Linked DNA regions of Homo sapiens: regions 2, 3, 4 and 5 are each linked to region 1. The links are contacts of gene promoters, found by promoter capture Hi-C in human tissues and cell types (Jung and others, 2019). All regions are on one chromosome and are shown on one strand. The core of a region is centred on a gene start or on the middle of the fragment in contact, and the rest is flanking DNA. Distances in the headings are between cores, read along the strand shown.

Region 1 (4,209 bases), core at 387-2,886:
ACACAGCCCAGAGCCAAAGGCCTCCCTGTGAGCACCAGCCCATCACCTCTGAACATCCTGAGTTCAGGAGCCAGAGCCTGGGCCCTGCCCTCCCTACTCATGTCCCCTTTCATTTGTTTACTGTTTGTACTGCCTACTACCGATGTGAAGGCGATCTGGCTGTGACATCTGTCACCCCATTGATCACCAGGCTTGATTCGGCTGTACTGCCTACTTCTAAGGAGGGCTTCAGGTAGAAATAATCCCAGCACTTTGGGAGGCCAAGGTGGGTGGATCACCTGAGTTCAGAAGTTCAAGACCAGCCTGGCCAACATAGTGAAACCCCGTCTGTACCAAAAAAAAAAAAAAAAAAAAAAAAAAAAAAATTAGCCGGGTCTGGTAGCGGGTGCCTGTAGTTCCAGCTACTCCGGAGGCTGAGACAGAAGAATCACTTGAACGTGGAAGACGGAGGTTGCAGTGAGCAACCAGAGATTGCGCCATTGCACTCCAGCCTGGGCGACAAGAGCGAGACTCCGTCGCAAAAAAAAAGAAAGAAAAAGAAAAAAAAAAGTGAACTCTCCTTAACTCCTCTCTGATGTTCGTCTCCCCTAGGACCCCATAACCAGTCCCTTTTTTGAGTCTCTCCAAACCCATCCATCTTGGCACCCTCCTCACCTCCAAAGCCCTGGGTCCGCAGCTGGCGGTAGGAGCGGTACACTTCCCTCGTGAGGTAGTTGATGAAGCCCTCCCTGGGCGCGAACTTGCACACGAAGTTCTGCTCGTAGAGGCAGTTGATGAGGAAGCAGGCGGCGATGGCGTCCTCCCCGCGGTCGGGCTGCAGCTCCACTAGCGCCAAGTTGCAGTTCTGGGTGGTGCAGCAGGCGCGCACGCAGTCCCAGCCCCGGCGCACGGTGGGGGACTCCAGGAAGGTAGCTCCGTTGCTGACCGAGGCGTTGGTGTCCAGCACGAAGCCAGGCACCCCGGCGGTAAAGCTGTTCAGGCAGTCGGCTCCCGCGGGCAGCCCAGGGGGCGCGGGCGGTGGCCCGGCCTGGGTGCCCTGGAGGCCGAGCGTGCACAGAAGCCACAAGGCGACGGCAGGGATGCCGGCCGGGGCGAGGCGGGCGCGGGCCATCGTCCTCGCAGGGGCCATCGCCTTCCTCCCCAGGGGGGTCACCTTCAGAGCGCGGGCCTCTGGGTTCCGAGGGTGCTGGTGACCTGAGAAGAAGGGAGGGGACAGAGGAGGAGACACACCTGATCAGCCCGGGAGACTTTGGAGGAGGCGGGCCGGCCGGGAGGAAGTGGCGGGGAGGAGGGACCGGAGCACCCCAGGATCGAAGAGGGCGCACGGGCCCGGCCCTCCCACGCGCCCTCCAGGGACCCGGCAGCCAGACAGACGGACAGGCGGACCGCTAGGGAGCTCAAGTACCCGGACACACGCACGAGCGCAGAACAAAGGGCCGGACATGCTCCAGCCCGCTCCGCCTGCGCCTCGGCCTTGCGCGCGGGGGCCCGGGTTACCTGCGCAGGTGAGTTGGGTGGGGCCGGGTCCGCCGAGGTTCCGGTCCCAGCTTCCTGCGCGGCTCGGGTCGCGGCTTCCGACCCGGTGCTCGGAGAGCTGGGGCTCGGCCGCCTTCTCCCCCTGGTTTCTGGTGAAACTGAGTCAGCGCCGTCGGGGCGGGGCCGACATTCACCCTTGCGCTGCCGGCCCCGCCCACGCCCGGTGCGCTGCGGCCGCCTCTAGCGCGGAGCTCCAGGCCCGGCCCGCCCCGCGGCCCCGCAGCCCCGGTGCCTCCCCGGCAGCCAGCTCCCCGGAGGGGCTCTCGGGCTCCACCCAGTCCAGCCTCGCGAGGGAGCCCCGCGCCCGAAGCGCATACCCAGCCGGGAGGGGATGCGGCCGGGACGCGAGGGTCCGGCCTCTGGGGCGGCGGCCTCCAGTCTTCCTTTCCGGCCGGGGCCTGCTTTCCCAGCCCCAGACCTGAGGCCCGATGCAAATGATCTTTCCGGCCCTCAGGAAATCATTTCCATTTCGTGGCGGGAAGGTAACCCAAAAGTTGCGTGGCTGCACCTGTGATAACAGGGATCCGGGATGTCTGCCTCACTGTCAGCTCCGGGAAGCCCTCCCTGCTGTCAGGGTGAGAAACGGAGGCGATTCCCCGCGTCCAGGCTCCCCTGCGTGCTCCACGGGGCTTCCCTGTTGTTCGAGGCCCCTCCTCATCTTGTATGTACAGTTCGGTCCATTCCCTGCTATGGCTCATTGGACTGTTGCCCCCTTCCCTGGAGCCCAGGCTTCCTCTCTTTCACAAAGGGGACGCTGCTGGCTACTTTCTTCCAGGGAAATGTCATCCTTGGAAGCCTGGAGGTTCCAGTTCACCAAGTAGCTGAGTTAATGCCCTTCACGAAACAGTGGACTCCTTGAAGCCAAGCTCATTGCTCCTCCTGAGTAAAAAACTCTTAAGAGACCATTCTCTACGGCAAGGGTCTGAACAGGTGAAAGACAGATGAAGGCAGGGCTGGAGGAAGGAATCACATAGCATGCTCTCTTAAAATACAGATTCCAAACCTTTTCCTGATGGCTTAACAACCCCCAAACCAATGGGAACATTCTTCCCAGTTTCTCATCCAGAGCAGCTTTGCCTAGCAGATCCTGTGGCCAACCCTTGGATTTTGCTGAACTGCAACATCCTCCAGCTGCTCACATGATGCGTGTTGGGGTGGGAATCTGGGGCCTGTCTCCCCTTCTCTGGATGTTTAGGGTTTATCCACAGACCCTGGCACACTGGTGGATATACAACAATGGTGGTATGCTGGGAATGAAGAAAATGATTGTGCAGTCACTGGGAAGAAAGGGTTTTGTTGTGATTTGATTTCCCCTTATGGCTAACACATTCAAGAATCTTTATTTATTTATTTATTTATTTTTTTTTTTTTTTTTTTGAGACGGAGTCTTGCTCTGTCACCCAGGCTGGAGTGCAATGGCACGATCTCGGCTCACTGCAACCTCTGCCTTCCAGATTCAGGAAATTCTGCCTCAGCCTCCCAAGTAGCTGGGCTTACAGGTGGGCACCACCACGCCGAGCTAATTTTTGTATTTTTAGTAGAAACGAGGTTTCACCTTTTTGGCCAGGCTGGTCTTGAACTCCTGACCTCAGGTGATCCACCCACCTCGGCCTCCCAAAGTGCTAGGATTATAGGCGTGAGCCACTGTGCCTGACCTCAAGAATCTTAATACAGGAAAATATTACCTTATGGTAATATTACATCACCATAAATTTATCATTACATCCATTATACACACCATTATAAAAACCAACATGAATTCAGCACTGACAATGCCCAAACTCTGTTCCTAAGCACTGCCCACATATTACCCTATACTCAAAACAAACCTAGGGAGGTAGTATTTTTAGCCCCATTTTACAAATGAGCAAACAGGCTCAGACAGGTAAACTGACTTGTCAGGTCATTCAGCATTGAAGCGGCAGAGTAGGGATTGGAGCCCAGGCAGGCCAATTCCATGGCTTCAGTGCTTAAACCCTGGGCTTTATGGCCTTTGCAATTCTGACTTCATCTGGAAGTTCTGCCCTCACCTCAGATTCAACTTGCTTAAACCCATAACTCACTTTCAAGTGGTGAGCACCCACCATTTGTTGAGATGCCCACTGTGTTCCCTCCAGGCACTTGACATAGGATTGCTAATGCTCAGGACAACTCTAAAAATTGCTTCCACTTTGCAGAAAGGTTCACTGACTCCATCAAGGTCAGGTAGTGAACGAAGAGTGGTGACAGGTTGTAGAGAAGTTGAACTTGTGAGCTTCAGACTCAGACTACTGGATTTAGCTCTTGCATCTGCCACTTACTATTCGTGTGGCCTTGTGCAAGTTATTTGATCTCTCTGCCTTAGTCTCCTTGAATGGGAAGTGGGGCTTCATAAGGTTTTTTATGAGGATTAATTGAGTTAATGCAGACAAAGCATTTGACACAAAGAGTTCTCAATAAATGTTACTTGAAACGACAACAACAACAACAACAAAAACACATGGTGGTGAGGATGCAGAGAAAAGGGAACGCTTATACATTGTTGGTGGGAATGTAAATCAGTTCAGCCACTGTGGAAAGCAGCTTGGAGATTTCTCAAAAACTTAGAACTACCATTCAACTCAGCAATCCTATTACTGGGTATATACCCAAAGGAAAATATATTGTTTTTCCAAAAAGACACATGCACTTGTA
Region 2 (4,625 bases), core at 1,007-3,506, 470 kb before region 1:
TAAATGTTAATCAGATTAGTTAGCTCTTTTTGTGTTTATTAGGGGTAAATTACCTTTCTCTTCTGAAGCGACAATTATACATCCATGATTGCTTTGACCAGAATATACGAGGGTATCCGCAATCCAGCATGTAATTAAATTACAATCTGAGTTACCCTTTCTTGAATGTGACATTCTTTCCGTCTCATTCCTATTACAATGTAATTTTCACCCTGACTTAGGTGTTAGGAATGCTTCAGAGACTAGTTATTTTTTATTTCTTATATGATTTTTTATTCTTACCCATATTGTGTTTTTCCCCACCCCTAGTACTTACAACCTTTTATTCTGTGGTTCTTGTGGGATTCCCGTTGGTTTCCATCTGTATTCTACCCATGCTGCCCTGGCTGCCTTGAGAGGTCACTTCTGCCTTTCCAGTGACAAAATGGTGTGGTGAGTAGACTTAGATATTGATCATCAAATACATTTTATTTTATTTATTTTGAGACAAAGTCCATCAAATAAATTTTAAAAGGTTTTTCAGGAAAGACAAAGTAGGCTGAGCACAGTGGCTTATGCCTGTAATCCCAGCACTTTAGGAGGCTGAGGCGGTGGATCACTCGAGGTCAGGAGTTTGAGACCAGCCTGGCTAACATGGTGAAACCCATCTCTACGAAAAATACAAAAATTAGCCAGGTGTAGTGGTAGACGCCTGTAATCCCAGCTACTCAGGAGGCTGAGGCACGAGAATTGTTGGAACCTGGGAGGCAGAGGCTGCAGTGAGCTGAGATCACGCCACTGTGAGATCACGCCACTGCACTCCAGCCTGGGAGACATAGTGAGATTCTGTCCAAAGGAAAAAAAAAAAAAAGTAGCTGGGCATGCTAGTGCACACCTGTAATCCCAGCTACTTGGGAGGCTGCGGCAAGAGAATTGCTTCAACCTGAGAGGTGGAGGTTGCACAGTGAGCTGAGATTGCACCACTACACTCCAGCCTGGGTGACAGAACAAGACTCTGTCTCAAAAAAAAAAAAAAGAAAAAAGACAAAGTGTTTGTACCAAAAAGATGCTAAAGTCAGGCACTGTCTTTGACAAAAAGATAGCAGTGGGCCAGGTGTGATGGCTCGCGCCTGTAATGCCAATGCTTTGTGAGGCCAAGGTGGGAGGACTGCTTGAGGGCAGGAGTTCAAGACCTCCATGGGCAATATAGTGAGACTCCTGTTTTTTTTTTATACAAAATTTTAAAAAATTAGCTGGATGTGGCGGCGTGCCCCTATAGTCCCAGTTACTTGGGAGGCTGAGGTGGGAGGATCACCTGAGCCCAGGAGTTCAAGGTTACATTTTGCTGTGATCATACCACTGCATTCCACTTTGGGTGACAAAAAAAAAAAAAAGCAGTGGGACCAAAATATAATCTTATAACATTATGATTATCTTCCATGTCTTATCATACCATATCTTAAAAGTCATACCATGGGAAAATTCAGAGGGTATTCTTTCATTAAAGAAACTTGTTGCCAGATGTGGTGGTGTGTGCCTGTAATTCTAGCTACCCAGGAGGCTGAGGCAGGAGGATCACTTGAATCTTGGTGTTTGAGACCAGCCTAGGCAACATGGTGAAGCCTCCCATCTCAAACTGCTCCCTTATGGGCCGGGTGCAGTGGCTCACGCCTGTAATCCCAGCACTTTGGGAGGCTGAGGTCGGGGGTTCACCTGAGGTCAGGAGTTCGAGACCAGCTTGGCCAACATGGTGGAACCCCATCTCCATTTAAAATACGAAAATAAGCCAAGTGTGGTGGCACACGCCTGTGGTCGCAGCTACTCGGGAGGTGAGGCAGAAGAATTGCTTGAACCCAGGAGGCGGAGGTTGCAGTGAGCCAAGATCAAGCCACTGCACTTCAGCCTGGGTGACAGAGCTAGACTCTGTCTCAGAAAAAATAAAAATAAATAAAAGATAAAAAGAACATTCTAGAAGGCAAGCTTTTGCAAAATAATGTTGCAGTAGATACCTTTTGGGTTTGTGCCCAGCCTCTCTCTCCCTCTAATAGGTGGGGCCTTGTATATTTGTATCATGTGTGATTTGTATCATGTGTGATTCCCACTCCCAGGTACTGGATCAAGAATGAATACCTGGCCAGGCATGGTGGGTCATGCCTGTAATCTCAGCACTTTGGAAGGCTGAGTTGGAGGATTGTTTGAGCTTAGGAGTTTGAGACCAGCCTAGGCAACATAGCAAGACTCTGTCTCTACAAAAAATTTAAAATATTAACTGTGTATGGTGGTGTATGCCTGTAGTCCTAGCTACTCTGGAGGCTAAGGTGGGAGGATAGCTACAGCCCAGGAGTTCAAGGTTACAGTGAGCTATGATTGTGTCACTGTATTCTAGCATGGGGAGCAGAGCAAGACCCTGTCTCTTAAAAACCAAAAACGGTGCTGGGCGTGGTAGCTCACGCCTGTAACCCCAGTACTTTGGGAGGCCGAGGTGGGCAGATCATGAGGTCAGGAGATCGAGATCATCCTGGCCAACATGGGAAACCCCGTCTCTACTAAAAATACAAAAAAAATTAGCTGGGCATGGTGGCGCATGCCTGTAATCCTAGCTACTTGGGAGGCTGAGGCAGGAGAATCACTTGAACCGGGGAGTCAGAGGTTGCAGTGAACCAAGATCGCGCCACTGCACTCCAGCCTGGCAACAGAGCGAGACTCTGTCTCAAAAAAAAAAAAAAAAAGAAAAATGGATACCTGACCCAAACTAAGCCAACCAGTTTTCTACCTTAGGAATTTGAAACAAGGGCCCAGAAATACCAGTTACGTGTAGATAGTACTAGTGTTGAAGTTTGGAAGTGAAAGCTCTATGTATGGGATAGCTATTTCCCATGTGATGCATGTAGCTGCAGGGAAGTCTTCTCTGCAGTAAAACATGAAGCAGACACAGAGAAAAGTAAAAATAATGATCATGTAGCCTCATAGTGTCAGAAAAACTACCCTACTGGTTATCCTTTCTCATGAATTACATTGGCTATTTCATTATTTTCCTAATAAATTGCACTTTTAACTTAAGCTTTTTTACTTATTACAAGAAACTGAAACATCCTTAGAAGTCTTTCCTTGACCATTAAAAAACAAAAACAAGCATTGACAACCTAGTTTATGTAGGCATTATGCTTATATCACTGAGTTCTTAATATAGTTTAAGAAAACTAGGGCTCAAAGAGGTGGAAGAGCTGAGATTTGAGCATGTCTTAACTCAAAAGCTTATTTTCCTTTCATAAAACTAAAAGGTTTCCTTTTTCTCATGTCTTTTTTTTTTTTTTTTTTTTTGAGATGGAGTCTTGCTGTGGCGCCCAGGCTGGAGTGCAGTGACGTGATCTTGGTTCACTGTAAGCTTCACCCCCTGGGTTCACACCATTCTCCTGCCTCAGCCTCCCAAGTAGCTGGAACTACAGGCGCCCACCACCACGCTTGGCTAATTTTTTGTATTTTTAGTAGAGACGGGGTTTCACTGTGTTAGCCAGGATGGTCTCGATCTCCTTGACCTCGTGATCCGCCCGCCTTGGCCTCCTAAGGTGCTGGGATTACAGGCATGAGCCACCGCGCCCGGCCGCTTTTTCTCATTTCTTATGCTTAGATAGATGTTTTTAGCTGAGTTATGGTTGACTAAACAATAAAACTTATCAGCCAGTCCTTTACCATGGGTTGCTCACTGTGCATTAGGTATACCATTTGTTCTTCATTGCAAATTTCCAACACAAAATATATACCTGAGATCCTGAGATGGATTGATCATTCTCTTTTTTTAAAGACGGAGTCTCACTCTGTCACCCAGGCTGGAAGTGCAATGGCATGATCTCAGCTCACTGCAACCTGCACCTCCTGGGTTCAAGTGATTCTCCTGCCTGGGCTTCCCAAAATGTTAAGATTACAGGCATTAATCACCATGCCCAGCCTCAATTTTTAGATTCTTTTTTTTTTTCTTTGAGACGGAGTCTTGCTCTTTCGCCCAGGCTGGAGCTGGAGTGCAGTGGCACCATCTCGGCTCACTGCAAGCTCCGCCTCCCAGGTTCACGCCATTGTCCTGCCTCAGCCTCCCGAGTAGCTGGGACTACAGGCGCCCGCCACCATGTCTGGCTAATTTTTTTGTATTTTTAGTAGAGACGGGGTTTTACCGTGTTAGCCAGCATGGTCTTGATCTCCTGCCTTGGCCACCTAAAGTGCTGGGATTACAGGTGTGAGCCACTGCGCCACCAATTTCTAGATTCTTAAGCAATTTCTATTTAGAATTAACTTTAAAGTGGGAAAAAAAACTGTAAATGTGTGCTGTTAGTAATCCCACATCTTTTTTAGAAATCAGTACAAAAGTAAATGTTCTAGAGAAGCAATAATTGCATTTTTGTTAGGGCAGTAAGCTTTTAGTAACATATTTTTAACATAAATTTGAAAAGCATTATGGGATTTTGGTTAATTTCTTAATCTTTAAAATGAGTTGGATAAAAGGTCAGGACATTCTTTTTGATTAAGTAGAAACTTTGGCCTTTTCCTCTTGGATTCGGGATGGCTGCTGCAATTACAGTCATTACATCTATTGATGATAGCATCCTAAACATGAAGGAAAAGGATATGGAGAGTATGGGAACACAAGAAAATTC
Region 3 (4,434 bases), core at 1,698-4,197, 270 kb before region 1:
ACCCATGCTGGAAACTTTGCCATTTCTGCCTCAATCCTGCTACATAATTCCCATTCCTTCCCTTCTTCCATTCTCCTCATGTAAGAAATCAATCACATTAGTTCCTGGTTAAAACTTTTTAAAAAAATTTTGTTTGAGATGGAGTCTCGCTCTGTCGCCCAGGCTGGAGTTCAGTGGCGTGATCTCGGCTCACTGCAAGCTCTGCCTCCCAGGTTCACGCCATTCTCCTGCCTCAGCCTCCTGAGTAGCTGGGACTACAGGCGCCTGCCACCACGCCTGGCTAATTTTTTTGTATTTTTTTAGTAGAGACGGGGTTTCACCGCGATAGACAGGATGGTCTCGATCTCCTGACCTCGTGATCTGCCAGCCTCGGCCTCCCAAAGTGCTGGGATTACAGGCGTGTGTGACAAAATTGTGTAGCATTTGCATATCACCTACACATCCTCCCATATACTTTAAATCATCTCTAGATTACTTATAATACCCAATACAATGCAAATGTTATGCAAATAATTATAGTGTATTTTGAAATGAGTTATTATTTATTTTTTGAACATTTGGTAGAAATGGGGTCTTCTTTTGTTGCCCAAGCCAATCTGTAACTCCTGGCTTCAAGTGACACTTTGGCTCAGCCTCTCAAAGTGCTGGGGATTACAGGTGTATGCCACTGAGCCCAGCCTATTTTTTGAGTATTTTTGATTTGCTGTTGGTTGAATCCACGGATATTGAACCCGCAGATATAAGGGCCAATTATATATCATACTTTTGCCTTTAAGCATTTTTTTTTTTTAAAGACAGTCTTACTCTGTTGCCCAGGCTGGAGTGCAATGGCTAGATCTCCGCTCACGGCAACCTCCGCCTCCGGGGTTCAAGCGATTCCCCTGCCTCAGCCTCCTGAGTAGCTGGGGGGATTACAGGCGCGCGCCATCATGCCCAGCTAATTTTTGTATTTTTAGTAGAGACAGGGTTTCAAGGTTGGTCAGGCTGGTCTCAAACTCCTGACCTCGTGATCTGCCTGCCTAGGCCTCCCAAAGTACTGGGATTACAGGCGTGAGCCACCGTGCCTGGCCATGCATTCAAGCAAATTTAACTCTTGGTTTTTTTTCTTGAGGCAGAGTCTCGCTCTGTCCCAGGTTGGAGTACAGTGGCTCAGTCTCGGCTCACTGCAACCCCTGCCTCCCAGGTTCAAGAGATTCTCCTGCCTCAGACTCCCGAGTAGCTGGGATTACAGGTGCCCGCCACCACGCCCGGCTAATCTTTTTTTTTTTTTTTTTTTTTTTTTTTCAGTAGAGACGAGGTTTCACCATGTTGGCCAGGCTGGTCTCAAAATCCCGACCTCAAGTGATCCACCCGCCTCAGCCTCCCAAAGTGCCGGGATTACACGCGTGAGCTACCGCGCTTGGCTTGCAAATGTAACTTTTTTTTTTTCTTTTTGAGATGGATTTTTTTTTTTTTCTTTTTGATACGGAATTTCGCTCTTGCTGCCCAGGCTGGAGTGCAATGGTGCGATCTCGGTTCACTGTAACCTCCGCCTCCCAGGTTCAAGCGATTCTCCTGCCTCAGGCTCCCAAGTAGCTGGACTACAGGCACCCGCCACCACGCCCGGCTAATTTTTGTATTTTTAGTAGAGATGGGGTTTCACCATATTGGTCAGGCTGGTCTCGAGCTCCTGACCTCAGGTGATTCGACCACCTGACCTCCCAAAGTGCTGGGATTACAGGCGTGTGGCACTGCACCCTGACACAAATTTAACTTTTTAAAGGTCAGTTAACTCAGCACAAGAAGGCTACTTGATGACCTTAATAAAGTACTTTTTAGTTAAATGCTAAGGGCCAGGTTAAAATGGATTAAAGAATGAGACCCAAAGGAACTGAATTAACAGCATATTTAACTTTCAGTAAGTTCTAATTCTTATCTACACCTAGGCCTTACCCTAGGCAATTCTCACCACACATCCTGGTAGTTGGGTCGATTACATTTATTATGTTGTCTTTTTTGTAGAGACGGGGTCTCGCTATGTTGACCAGTCTAATGGACTGCTCTGAGACGTTTGGCCTGAGGTGATCCTTCCAGGCAGGAGGATCACTTCAGGCCAGGAGACTGGGAACCAGCCCAGTAGACTGGGCAACATAGCGAGACCCCAAGTTTAGTAAATGTGGGTGGCAGTGGACTCAAATTGTAGAATTGGCACAGGTAAAAGCAATTATTCGCTTTTCAGAGGCACACTGTGTGGATGTGAGAACAGGCTGGCATTTCCGATAACAGGTCTGCGTGTTCCCAAGTCCTTGTATCCCACAACCTTCACGTAGACATCTTATCTAACTATGCTGTCCTACCCAACCTATAGCGTTCTTGCTCCCAGAGTCTAAATGGGAGCCCCAAACTAATTACTGTATAGTAGTCGAACTACACACCAGGCACTTCCCCGACAATCTACAACCCCATCCAAAGGGGTCAGAAACTAGTAACAAAATACCAGCTGCGAGCCTCTCCTTCCCCTAAAGAGATCTTATCAACTTGGCTGCACCTTCCCACCTCTAGCCTGCGGGAACAAATATCCCAGGATCCCGGGCGGTTTCGATTGACGTTACTTCCGGGAAAAGTAACCTTGCATCGGCGGTTGCGGGCCTGGAAAGCTCTCGCGACATTTTCTCCTGCGAGATCTGCTTGCTCACTGTAGCGATGACATCCTCCTCCTCCTCCCCGCCGCCTTTCGGCAATCTTCGCCAGTCCCAGTCCCGACTAATCTGTACTCAGATGGCATGGATCAGGGTCTCCCCTCGAACCCCGGTTCGCACGGGGCGTCAGGTGGCAGCGGCGGGGTGCGAGCTGCGCGAGGCCGACGGCAGCGGCACTACGGGTGGCCACGGGCAGGCGACGAGCAGTGAGTGTGGGCGGGGTGGGGGTAAGCCACCCGTGTAGCGGCTCGATTGTTCTGGCCTGGCTATGGCGCCTCTCCTCCCCCCCGCCATGGCTCCCCGTGTCCCTGCTCCGCTCCTCTCAGTGAGTGAAAGTGGCCGCCGCCGCCGCCGGCCCAGCGCCCGCAGCCGCCTCAGCGCCGCCGCCATCTTGGGGTCCCAGGAGCCGCGGAGGGAGCGAGCTAGGAGCGTCCACGCCCAACGCAGTCACCGTCCCACGGCCTCAGAGAGCGAACCGCGGCTCCACCGTCGGCGGGGCGACCCCCCCCTCCGGACCCCGCCCGCACCCCGCCCCCCCTCCGCCGCCGTCGCGGCGGCGGGGCCAGGCGGCCCGAGGTGAGGCAACTAGACGTGGGCGGGCGAACGGAGTGGGGGTTGTGTAGGTCTTGTTGCGCCCCTCTCTGCGGGCGACAACTGGGCCGCGTCTTAAAGGGGCCGTCGCCCCCGGCCCTTGGATTTGTTGGGGTTAGTATGGAGGATGGGTGTGGACACTCCCCGCAGGGTTGGGACCTCAGGGACTAGGGCCTTGTCCTTCCCGTTTCATATCTCTGGAGACCCGGGGTCATGCGGTGACCTCAGCCACCTGAGGAAGCCCGTGGGGCGCCCACACGTGGGGAGTGTGTTAGACCAGGTGCACGTGGGACCCGGTGGGGCGGTGTCGGGCTAACACGTGTGTAGGTTTGGGGGTGGGCAGGGGCAGGGCGGAGGCTGGAAGGCCTTGAGTGGGAACCCCGTGAAGGTTGTGTATCTGTCATTTTAAACAAATGAGATCTAAGGGCTTGTTAGTGTGTCATTTTGTAAGGGGCAAGTTGAGATACGGTTGAATGGTGCACGCTGCTGGCTGGTGTTGGGTGGGGGCAGGCTGACACCTGCATAGACTTGGGAGTGTCTAGATGACACCTCTTCTGGTTTTTTAGGTTTTTACATAGCGACTAGGAAAGTGTCATCCTATTTTGACATTCCTTCTTGAGCTCGCTAATGGAAAGTACTACTTCCGTAATCTCCGAGGCTAGAAGCCCCCTACAGTTTAGGAATGACAGAACCTAGGCAGCCACTTACTATTCTAGTTAACAGCCAACTGTGCCTGGAATTCTTTGATTCACACACTGTCTCTAGTTTGATGTACTTGTTAGAAATGGGGGAAGGAATTTGGAGGTTGACCTGGCTAACGTCACAGGTTACTTTTCCAGTCAGTGACTTTCATTATTTCCTCCACAACAAAATTATTGTGGCTTTTCAGTGGCAACTTAAATTAAATAATAGCTTTATTGAAATATGATTCAAATACCAAAAAATTCCGCTTTCTAAAGCGTATAATTAAGTAATTTTCTGAAACTATATTTATTAAATTCTGTAGCCATCAACCACTATTTAATTCATCACCCTAAAAGAGAATCTCTAGAAGCCATTTAGCAGTCACTCCCCATTCCCCCTCCCTCCAGTCTTAGGTAACTATTAATATATTTTTTGCCTAAATTTACCTAAAAAAGAAACATATGTATCTTTCTTTGCCTAG
Region 4 (4,719 bases), core at 1,284-3,783, 390 kb before region 1:
CTATATTTATTTCTCTTTGATTCTGCTTATTTCTCCATGTGACTCTTTAACACAAATACTTTAATTCGGTGTCACCCTAGACCTAAAGTAGTACTAATTACAAATGTGGCCAGAAGTTATGGCCACAAAACGTAATAAAATGCTTGTTGAATCCAAACTGCTTGCGTCTCCACTCCGAGGGTCAGAGTAAGTCAGTGGCCAAACAAGTACTGCAAATTATAAAGAGCTAACTACTTTGGGTCATTCAAATCGTGAAAAGGACTGCCTTGGTAGGTGGAGAGGTTACCATCATTAAATGTCTTTACAGAGAGGCTTAAGGGCCATATTTTAGGGGAGGCTGAAAGAAGCAAACCAGTCCAGAAAGGGGTGGGGCTAGAAAACATCCCTTCCAACTTGAAAACTCCAGAAAGTTGAACTTGTCACAAAGCAGAGAACAGCACTTAAACAGGCCTGAAAAATTCTGTAGTTCCCCATAGCACTCCTCAGTACTATCTGCATATGGGCCGGAGTGAGTTACTGGTCATGTCATTATCAAAGACAAGTATGATGAAGAGACAGAGCTCAGGTGCTACATCCTTCATTAACTCAATAAGAATCATAAAGGTTTACTGAAAAGATAAAATATTGTATGCATCAATACAATTGTATCATACATTGCATTATCAAGGACTATTCAAAGTTATGATGGTATTTTACAGCGCTTCAGAATCCCGAGTCCTTTTGCTCCTTTGTTCAGACTAATGAGGAAGAGACTGGACTATAAAAAAAAAAATCAGTTCTGCAGGGCACGGTGGCTCACACCTGTAATCCCAGCACTTTGGGAGGCCGAGGTGGGTGGATCACTTGAGGTCAGGAGTTCGAGGCCAGCCGGGCCAACATAGTGAAACCCCATCTCTACCAAAAATACAAAAATTAGCCAAGCGTGGTGGCAGGCACCTGTACTCCCAGCTACCTGGGAGGCTGAGGCAGGAGAACTGCTTGAACCTGGGAGGCGGAAGTTGCAGTGTGCCGAGATCACGCCACTGCACTCCAGCCTGGTTGACAGAGGGAGACTCCGTTTCAAAAAAAAAAAAAAAAAAAATCAGTTCCTAGTACAAATTCACACGGAGATTTTTGGAGCACATCCAATTTCAATAGCGAATAAAAAAGTACACCAGCATAGTAGAAATCAATACATATATGAGATTAGGACAGCAAGTATCGTCGTGTAAGTAAAAAACTGGTGGTCACAGTATCCGTGTTTTTTCTCTAGAAGTTCAGATTGAAAGAAGTCTCACAATCCCAGACCCCTGATTGTTTAAAGGTCTCCAGGCATCGGGTCATGTCTCCCAAAGCCTTACTACACGGTCTTGCTTTCTGGGTGGTTTTCCCAATTTGTGACAAGAACTTGTTTGTAATTTCCCATAGTTGTCAGAGGTTTTAGGTCCTTACCCAGAAACGGATTTTCTACAGAATCCATCTCGAGTTCCTGAATTTGCTTCTCGGGCTTTACCTACTGTTCAGGATGCCTCTTCATAGGGAAGGGTGGTGCGAGGCAACAGAAAGGAAAGGAGTTCGGGGACTTTGATGGGCAGGGTGCAGAAAAGGGGGGCGTCGACGCTCTACGAGTGATCAAGAGTCCCGATTTTGAAGGGAAGGACAGCCCCACAGTAGCTAGAGCCCCGCTCCAGGAAGCTGCAGCTGGAAGAACAGGTCTTCCAGCTCTCGGTCCCCAAACCTGGAGGCTGCCCAGGACCCCCCAACCTCACAGGCACCCGAGCTCCAGACCTTAGCGACAGCCGCCCTTGGTTGTGAGGCCAGCCTGAGGCGCCCGGCGTTCCCACCCCCAACCCGAACTCACAGCCGGTCTCCTTCTTGATCTCCTCGAGCTCTTCGTCCCGCAGTAACGTGGAGGCCCGAGAACCCATCGCCGTGCCGGGAGCTCCTCCGGGAGCAGCGGCGCCAGAAGAGACGGCGACAGGAGGGAAGGAGGGAGGGAAGGAAGGGCTAGGGGTCAAGAAGGGAGAGGGCAGTGTTTCCACTGCGGACCCGGGAGGGAACCCAGGGGTGGTGCGCTGGGGAGGGCGGCCCCGAGGACCCGCCAATCAGGCGCGAGGCAGCGCCCGGCTCAGGAGCCAACGTCAGCGTTCGAGTTCCAGCCCCGAATGAATCAGCCCAGCTCCAGCCCAAGTCCTGCTGAAGACGGACCCCGCCCCCGGAACCGCAGCTGCCACCGGCCTTAAAGGGGCGATGCCACTCGGTCGCTAACGACGCAATTAAAAGGGCAACGTCATTGACCAACAGTTTTACAACAAACTAACCTGCGACAGGCAGCGTAGTCTACCTTTTCTCACAGGAATCGAACACTAGGAATCCTACTCGATAGGTGGCACGGATTGCGGAGAGAAACTTCGCGTGGGGGGGAACCCTAGGGTGTACCCTTCGGGGACTGCACGCGCTCTTCATCTTTCCTGGCTGCCGTCCTCCTCCCGGCCGCAGGGGGCGCTGGGGAGCCGGCCTCGGGGCCGCGTGCTGATTGGCTCCTCGGGAAACAGACGAGACTGGACGTTGGGCCGGGCGGGCGTCGCCTCTGCGGCGTGTGTCCCCGGCGTCGCGGACCTTTCTCCAGGTTTTCAGCCTGTGATTTGATAACCGCCGCCGGGTGGCGTGGAGCGTCCCGAGACTTCTTCCTTCATTGCAGCCCCTCTTCTTTTAGTTCTAGACTGAAGTTCGAGGAACGCACCACTTGGCTGAAATTAGGATCCAGATTTCCCAAACTTCCTTCGGAGGAAAAAGCCCTAACGATGGAGGACAGTGAATTCCTAGCTTATGGTCCGCCATTTATTTGAAGTTCCTTATTTTGTCTTAAAAATGAGAAATTTTGCATTTTATTCTCATGGTGTATTGTTTGTTTTGATTAAAAAGGTAGGCCTGGCACGGTGGCTCACGCCTGTAATCCCAGCACTTTGGGAGGCCGAGGTGGGCAGAACACCTGAGGTCGTGAGTTCGAGACCAGCCTGACCAATATGGAGAAACCCCATCTCTAATAAAAATACAAAATTATCCGGGTGTGGTGCCGCGTGCCTGTAATCCCAGCTACTCGGGAGGCTGAGGCAGGAGAATCGCTTGAACCCGGGAGGCGGAGGTTGCAGTGAGCCGAGATCGCGGCATTGCTCTCCAGCCTGGGTGACAGAGCAAGACTCCGTCTCAAAAAAAAAAAAAAAAAAAGGTAAAAGCCACCCGTTAAATTAGTGCCTACTCTCAGGTGAACCAGTTCTTACTGCTTCACCTGCCTTACCCCTTCACACCTGTTTGGTTAGAACACGTATAAGATAAGGAAGAACCGAATTCTGACTGCTGTTAGTACCCAAGTACCAGGATATTTTTGTCGTAGCAGGCTTTCCCAGGTCAACTTAAGTTACTAGTTTTAAGTGTTACCTAAGGCTTTACAGCTTAGCCTGAGGCCCCACACGTTCCCTGCAAGCTGAGGTTCTAGTTTGAAGAACTAGAGTTTTGTTTGTTTGTTGTTGTTGTTGTTGTTTGAGACGGAGTTTTTGCTCTTCTGCCCAGGCTGAAGTGCAAAGGCGCCATCTCAGCTCACCGAAACTTCCGCCTCCCGGGTTCAAGCGATTCTCCTGCCTCAGACTCCCTAGTAGCTGGGGTTACAGGCATGCGCCACCGTGTCCAGCTAATTTTGTATTTTTAGTAGAGACAGGGCTTCTCCATGTTGGTCAGGCTGGTCTCGAACTCCGTATCTCAGGTGATCTGCCCGCTTCAGCCTCCCAAAGTGCTGTGATTACAGGCGTGAGCCACCGCACCTGGCTTGTTTTGTTTTTTTGCGACAGAGTCCGGGCTGGAGTGCAATGGCCTGATCACTGTGCATTTTCGGCTCACTGCAACCTCCAGGCGGGTTCAAGGGATTATCATGCCTCAGCCTCCTGAGTAGCTGGGATTACAGGCGCGTGCCACCACGCCCAGCTAATTTTTGTATTTTTAGTAGAGACAGGGTTTCACCATATTGTCTAGGCGGGTCTCAAACTCCAGAACTCAGGTGATCCACCCGCCTCGGCCTCCCAAAGTGTTGGGATTACAGGCGTGAGTCCCCGTGCCCGGCCTTAGAGTTATTTTTATGATTGTCGTGCACTTGTCTAACCTAGTGATGTTGTCCTTTGTACTCAGTAACATTTTGGATATGCCCGTCTAAGAGCTAAATCACTGGAGCTGCTTTGTATGTTGGAATATGGCTGTGATAGGAAAATTTTGTCAGCCCCATGAATGTCCCTTTTCTCAGTCAGCCTTGAAGCCCATCTCTTGATGCTGACCTTACTTTTTTCCTTCCTAATCTTGAATCTTAGTGTTTGCAGCTGTCTCCAGTCAAAGCTTTCTTTGCTTCATGTTAGTATTTTTTTCTGACTTTAATTTTTTTTTCTTTAATGTTTCTCTAATTCTCTTATTTTCCAGGTGTTTCACAAACTTTCCTTTCTTGGGTACCTTTTAAAAGTATAAATTGCTTGAACCCGGGAGGCAGAGGTTGCAGTGAGCCAAGATAGCGGTACTGCACTCCAGCCTGGCGACAGAGTGAGACTCCATCTCAAAAATAAAATAAAAATAATGTTTGCCTCTATTAAGGGCTGTTTTCTTTTTCCAGTTTTATGTATTTTTCTTTAAAAATTCTCCTTTTGCCTGTTGGATTAACTTAAAGAATGGTTTTTCTTAGACTCTCTGATGACTTGTTTTATG
Region 5 (4,826 bases), core at 1,811-4,310, 320 kb before region 1:
GAAACCCAGGAGCCAGCTAAGACTGTACGGGATTGTACAGGCTGTATAGACGTCTGTATCTTGGGAGGCCTCAGGAAACTTACAATCCTGGTGGAAAGCAAAGGGGACGCAAGCATGTCTTACATTGCTGGAGCAGGAGGAAGAGAGCAAAAGGGGAAGTGCTACACACTTTCAAAAAAACAGATCTTGGGAGAACTCTATCACAAGACAGCACTAGGCGGATGGTGCTAAACCATTAGAAACCACCCCATGATCCAGTCACCTCCCACCAGGCCCCACCTCCAACCCCTGAGTGGGGACACAGGGCCAAACTATATCACTTGGGTAATATAAACAAGAAGGGAATTTACTGGAAAGATGAGTGGCTCACAGAACTGACTAGAAGGCTAAAAAACTAAGCTTGGAAATAGGATAGAGGGCTATGGCAGAACTCTAGTTAGCAGGAACAACTCAACTGGCAGAGTGAGTGCCAGTTATGAACAAGGAAGTGAGATGATCGGAAATGTAGATTATATATATATATATATATAATTATTATTTTTTCTGAAACAGACTTTCGCTATTTTCGCCCAGACTGGAGTGCAGTGATGTGATCTCAGCTCACTGCAACCAGAAATGTAGATGATAGATCGTCCTGGTTTAAGCTGTAGGATGGATTGAAAAGGAGCAAGAATAATATGAGGAAGACTTGTATGAAAACTCTTGCATTGATTAAGGTGGAAGATGTGAATGCTTGAATTTGGGAGGGATACAGTGGGATACAGTTGGTAGGATGGAGAGGAATACACAAATACAGGATTTTAGGAAGCATAATGAACCAAATGACCAATTGAATATGGATGGTAAAGTGTGGAAAGGAGTCTTGGCTGGCTCCCAGGTTTCTGACTTGGGCATCTGTTTGGAAGTTGGTGCCATTTACAGAGAGAATATATTGAGAGGATAGTTTGCAGAACTGTGATTTGATAGTTGAATTTTACATGTTTCTCATTTAGAATACATTTGGAATTCCTACATGGATGTGTCTACTAGACAGTCAGATATATGTGAATATAGAGAAGGAGAAAGATCTGAGCTAGAGAGATTGGGAGATGTAAATGGCCCTTGAAGTGATGAGCATATACAGTATTTTCCAGGTTTGAGTATAGAGAGTAAGAGAAAAGGAATGAGAAAGATCACACTCCTAAAATAGGGCAAGGCTGGGCGCTGTGGCTGATGCCTGTAATCCCAGCACTTTGGGAGGCTGAGGTGGGTGGATCACCTGACGTCTGGAGTTTGAGACCAGCCTGACCAACACTAAGAAACCCTGTCTTTATACTAAAAATACAAAATTAGCTGGGTGTGGTGGTGCATGCCTGTAATCCCAGCTACTCAGGAGGCTGAGGCAGGAGAATCACTTGAACCCGGGAGGCGGAGGTTGTGGTGAGCTGAGATCTCGCCATTGCACTCCAGCCTGGGCAACAAGAGTAAAACTCCTTTTCAAAAAAAAAAAAAAAAGGTAAAAGCCCGGGTGTAGTGGCTCACGCCTGTAATCTCAGCACTTTGGGAGGCTGAGGTGGGCGGATTACGAGATCAGGAGATCAAGACCATCCTGGCGAACACAGTGAAACCCCATCTCTACTAAAAATACAAAAAGTTAGCCGGGTGTGGTGGGCACCTGTAGTCCCAGTTACTCGGGAGGCTGAGGCAGGAGAATGGCGTGAACCCAGGTGGCGGAGCTTGCAGTGAGCCGAGATTGCGCCACTGCACACTCCAGCCTGGGCGACGAGCGAGACTCCCTCTCAAAAAAAAAAAAAAGTAAACAGGAAGAGATACACACAGAGACCAAGAAGGAGAAGACAAATAGGAAGAAAATCAGAATAGTATTATGTAAACCAGAAACCTCATTTGTAGTTTGATGAACTCTCATTGTAAGTTATATCAACCACAAATTATTTTTAACGGTTTTACTAAGATATAATTTTTTTTTTTTTTGAGACAGAGTTTCACTCTTGTTGCCTAGCCTGGAGTGCAATGGCTTGATCTCAGATCACTACAACCTCCGCCTTCTGGGTTCAAGCGATTCTCCTGCCTCCTCCCAAGTAGCTGGGATTACAGGCATGCACCACCCCGCCTGGCTAATTTTGTATTTTTAGTAGAGCCAGGGTTTCACCATCTTGGTCAGGTTGGTCTTGAACTCCCGACCTCAGGTGATCCACCTGCCTTGGCCTCCCGAAGTGCTGGGATTACAGGCGTGAGCCACCGCGCCCGACTGATATAATTTTTTTTTTTTTGAGACAGTGTTTCACTCTATCACCCAGGATAGAGTGCAGTGGCGAAATCTTAGCTCACTGCAACCTCCACCCTCTGGGGTTAAGTGATCCTCCCACTTCAGTAGCTGGGACCACAGGCGTGCACCACCATACCCAGCTATTTTTTTGTATTTTTAGTAGAGACAGAGTCTCGCCATGTTGCCCAGGCTGGTCTCGAACTCTTGGACCCAAGCGAACTGCCCACCTTGGCCTCTTTTTCTTTCAAGTCAAATGATTTTGTTAGACTATGTTTTGGTGTTGGTCATTCTGGATCACCATTTTCAGATACAGTGTGATTTTTAAAATATGCTGTATAGTTTTTTGTTTGTTTTTTAGAGATGGGGTTCTTATTATACTGCCAAGGCTAGACTCCAACTCCTGGCCTCAAGTGATCCTCCCAAAGTGCTGGGATTACAGGCATGAGACGCCCTGCCCGGCCATCTTACATAATATTCTTAATGCATTTTAGCTTTTTATGCACCAATATATTAGAGTGTTCATCTATTTATTTTTTATTTTTTTTATTTTGAGACACTCTCACTCTGTCACCCAGGCTGGAGTGCAGTGACATAATCACTGCTCACTGCAGTCTTGACTTCCTGGGCTCAAGCAATCTTCCCACCTGAGCCTCCCAAGTAGCTAGGACTAGAGGCATGTGCCACCATGCCCAGCTAGTTTTCAAAAAAAAATTTGGGGCTGGGCGCAGTGTCTCACACCTGTAATCCCAGCACTTTGGGAGGCCGAGGCAGGCGGATCACAAGGTCAGGAGTTCGAGACCAGCCTGGCCAGTATGGTGAAACTTCATCTCTACTAAAAATACAAAAATTAGCCAGGCACTGTAGCATGCGCCTGTAGTCCCAGCTACTCAGGAGGCTGAGGCAGAAGAATCGCTTGAACTCGGGAGGCGGAGGTTGCAGTGAGCCGAGATCACGCCATTCCATTGCAGCCTGGGTGATAGAGCAAGACTCCATCTCAAAAAAAAAAAAAAAAGGGGTTTCTTTGGGCCAGGCATGGTGACACATGCCTGTAATCCCAGCTACTGGGGAGGTGAGGCAGGAGAATCACTTGAACCCAGAGGTGGAGGTTGCAGTGAGCTGAGATCACGCCACTGCACTCCAGCCTGGGTGAAAGAATTAGACTTCGTCTCAAAAAAAAATTTTTTTGGCGGGGGCAGACAGGTTCCCACTATGTTGTCCAGGCGGTCTAGAACTCCTGGCTTCAATCAGTTTTCCTGCCTTGGCTCCCCAAAGTGCTGGCATTACAGGTGTGAGCCACCACATCAGGCTAGGCTCAATTAATTTTTTAACTTCACAGAGCTTCCTATTTTGTTGTTTTTGTGTAGTGTTAAAATCACAGTTATTTGCTTTCTGAGATTTCTTGGCTTTGTCTTCTTCCCTAGTACTTTTATCTCTCTTTCCTTTCTGTTTTCCCTACCCTGCTCAGTTTTTGTTCCATTTCTAGAAGTTTCTCCCCAGTGTGTGAACTTGTCCTGGAAGGGATCCATGGTTGGTTATTATACAGAGCTTATAGGGTCTAGACTGTTCAAGCCTGGGTATACCTTCAGACTGTGGGATCCTTTCATGCAATTGCTATTGGAGTGAAAAAACCCCTTTTGGTTTCAGCTGTTGTTCTCAAATTGGCGCTTAACACTCTCTAGTGAATACCAATTTTCTTCTTAGGTCTGTCAGATACCCCATTGCTTCCCTCTACTGTTTTTCCCACATGGTTGTCAGTATCTCTTGGGTTGTCCCCACCTCTTTGCAATTTCAGGTTTATGAGTTACTTCATCACCCAGTATGTTGTAAATATTGTTCATGGGTTTGGAGTTTTGTCCTCTAATTATTCTGTTTTTACATGGGGATTTGAGAAGATCTAGAAAGTATGCCACCGTTACCACCCTGCCATCTTCCCAGAATCTTGGTATATACTTTCCTTGCTTCTAAAAGGCCTAATACTATGGCTTCCATCTTGGGTGCACTCTTTCTGTCAGATCACTTGTTCTGGTTGCCATGTTGGGAGAATACTTTTGGGAGGATTCGGCCCGACAGAGAACCAAGGACTCCAGCCGACAGTCTGTGAGGGACTATGTCTTCATCTCCCACAACCAAACAGTGGTCATTCCTCTCCAGTAGATCCTCCCCAGTCAAGCCTTCAGGTGACTACAGTCCAGCCTATAGCTTGACCACAAACTTATAAGAGAACGTGAACCAGAATCATCCAGCTCAGCTGATCCTGGATTCCTGACCCCCCAGAAACTGGGAGATAATAAGTATTTGCTGCTTTTTTTTTTTTTTTTTTGCTTTTGAGAAAGTCTTTATTTTTCTGTTATGAATAATTGAATTTTCTAATTATCCCAAATGATTTTATAAATTCCATAACTTTGATATGCCTGCCTGGGATCCATGAAATAAAAGTATAATTCCTTACCAAAAGAGAAGCATCATATACACTGAAAGTCTCCATGTTTCATATTTTCAAAAATAAAAGTGACTGTATACCCTTTTATTAACTATATGGTAGCTTGGTAAAATTTTTATA

What was found. The method cuts DNA at HindIII sites, captures the fragments that hold promoters and counts their contacts. A contact is called where the count stands out against the background at its distance.
Region 2: a contact is called between a fragment that was not itself captured here and the fragment with the promoter of SPINT1 in region 1, in 2 of the 25 tissues and cell types used here (H1 embryonic stem cells and spleen).
Region 3: a contact is called between the fragment with the promoter of INO80 here and the fragment with the promoter of SPINT1 in region 1, in 3 of the 25 tissues and cell types used here (mesenchymal stem cells, ovary and spleen).
Region 4: a contact is called between the fragment with the promoter of EXD1 here and the fragment with the promoter of SPINT1 in region 1, in 2 of the 25 tissues and cell types used here (lymphoblastoid cells and mesenchymal stem cells).
Region 5: a fragment that was not itself captured here is called in contact with the fragment with the promoter of SPINT1 in region 1 in 1 of the 25 tissues and cell types used here (spleen).

What each region holds. Positions count from the first base shown.
Region 1 is chr15:40,841,475-40,845,683 of GRCh38, reverse strand. It overlaps SPINT1 (serine peptidase inhibitor, Kunitz type 1), which reads right to left and starts at 1,636. Exons shown (of 11, transcript NM_003710.4): 1 at 1,498-1,636; 2 at 655-1,194. The coding sequence starts at 1,129. SPINT1-AS1 (SPINT1 antisense RNA 1) reads left to right here and starts at 1,160. Exons shown (of 2, transcript NR_146468.1): 1 at 1,160-1,505. RefSeq lists silencers at 955-1,194, 1,485-1,544, 1,625-1,854, 2,016-2,198 and an enhancer at 1,492-2,063. The HindIII fragment of the contact is 27,771 bases long and covers 1-4,209 here.
Region 2 is chr15:41,315,465-41,320,089 of GRCh38, reverse strand. OIP5 (Opa interacting protein 5) reads left to right here. Exons shown (of 5, transcript NM_007280.2): 3 at 310-432. Among named protein-coding and RNA genes, the nearest start is that of OIP5, 15 kb to the left of the region's middle. The HindIII fragment of the contact is 5,957 bases long and covers 1-4,625 here.
Region 3 is chr15:41,114,793-41,119,226 of GRCh38, reverse strand. It overlaps INO80 (INO80 complex ATPase subunit), which reads left to right and starts at 2,947. Exons shown (of 36, transcript NM_017553.3): 1 at 2,947-3,254. RefSeq lists enhancers at 964-1,743, 2,460-2,559, 2,525-3,304, 3,370-3,449, 3,500-3,549 and 2 more and a silencer at 3,000-3,269. The HindIII fragment of the contact is 26,384 bases long and covers 1-4,434 here.
Region 4 is chr15:41,228,571-41,233,289 of GRCh38, reverse strand. It overlaps EXD1 (exonuclease 3'-5' domain containing 1), which reads left to right and starts at 2,533. Exons shown (of 12, transcript NM_001286441.2): 1 at 2,533-2,811. It overlaps CHP1 (calcineurin like EF-hand protein 1), which reads right to left and starts at 2,022. Exons shown (of 7, transcript NM_007236.5): 1 at 1,841-2,022. The coding sequence starts at 1,907. RefSeq lists enhancers at 2,179-2,238, 2,259-2,328 and a silencer at 2,449-2,508. The HindIII fragment of the contact is 9,013 bases long and covers 1-4,719 here.
Region 5 is chr15:41,165,355-41,170,180 of GRCh38, reverse strand. No RefSeq gene overlaps it. Among named protein-coding and RNA genes, the nearest start is that of INO80, 51 kb to the right of the region's middle. The HindIII fragment of the contact is 6,382 bases long and covers 1-4,826 here.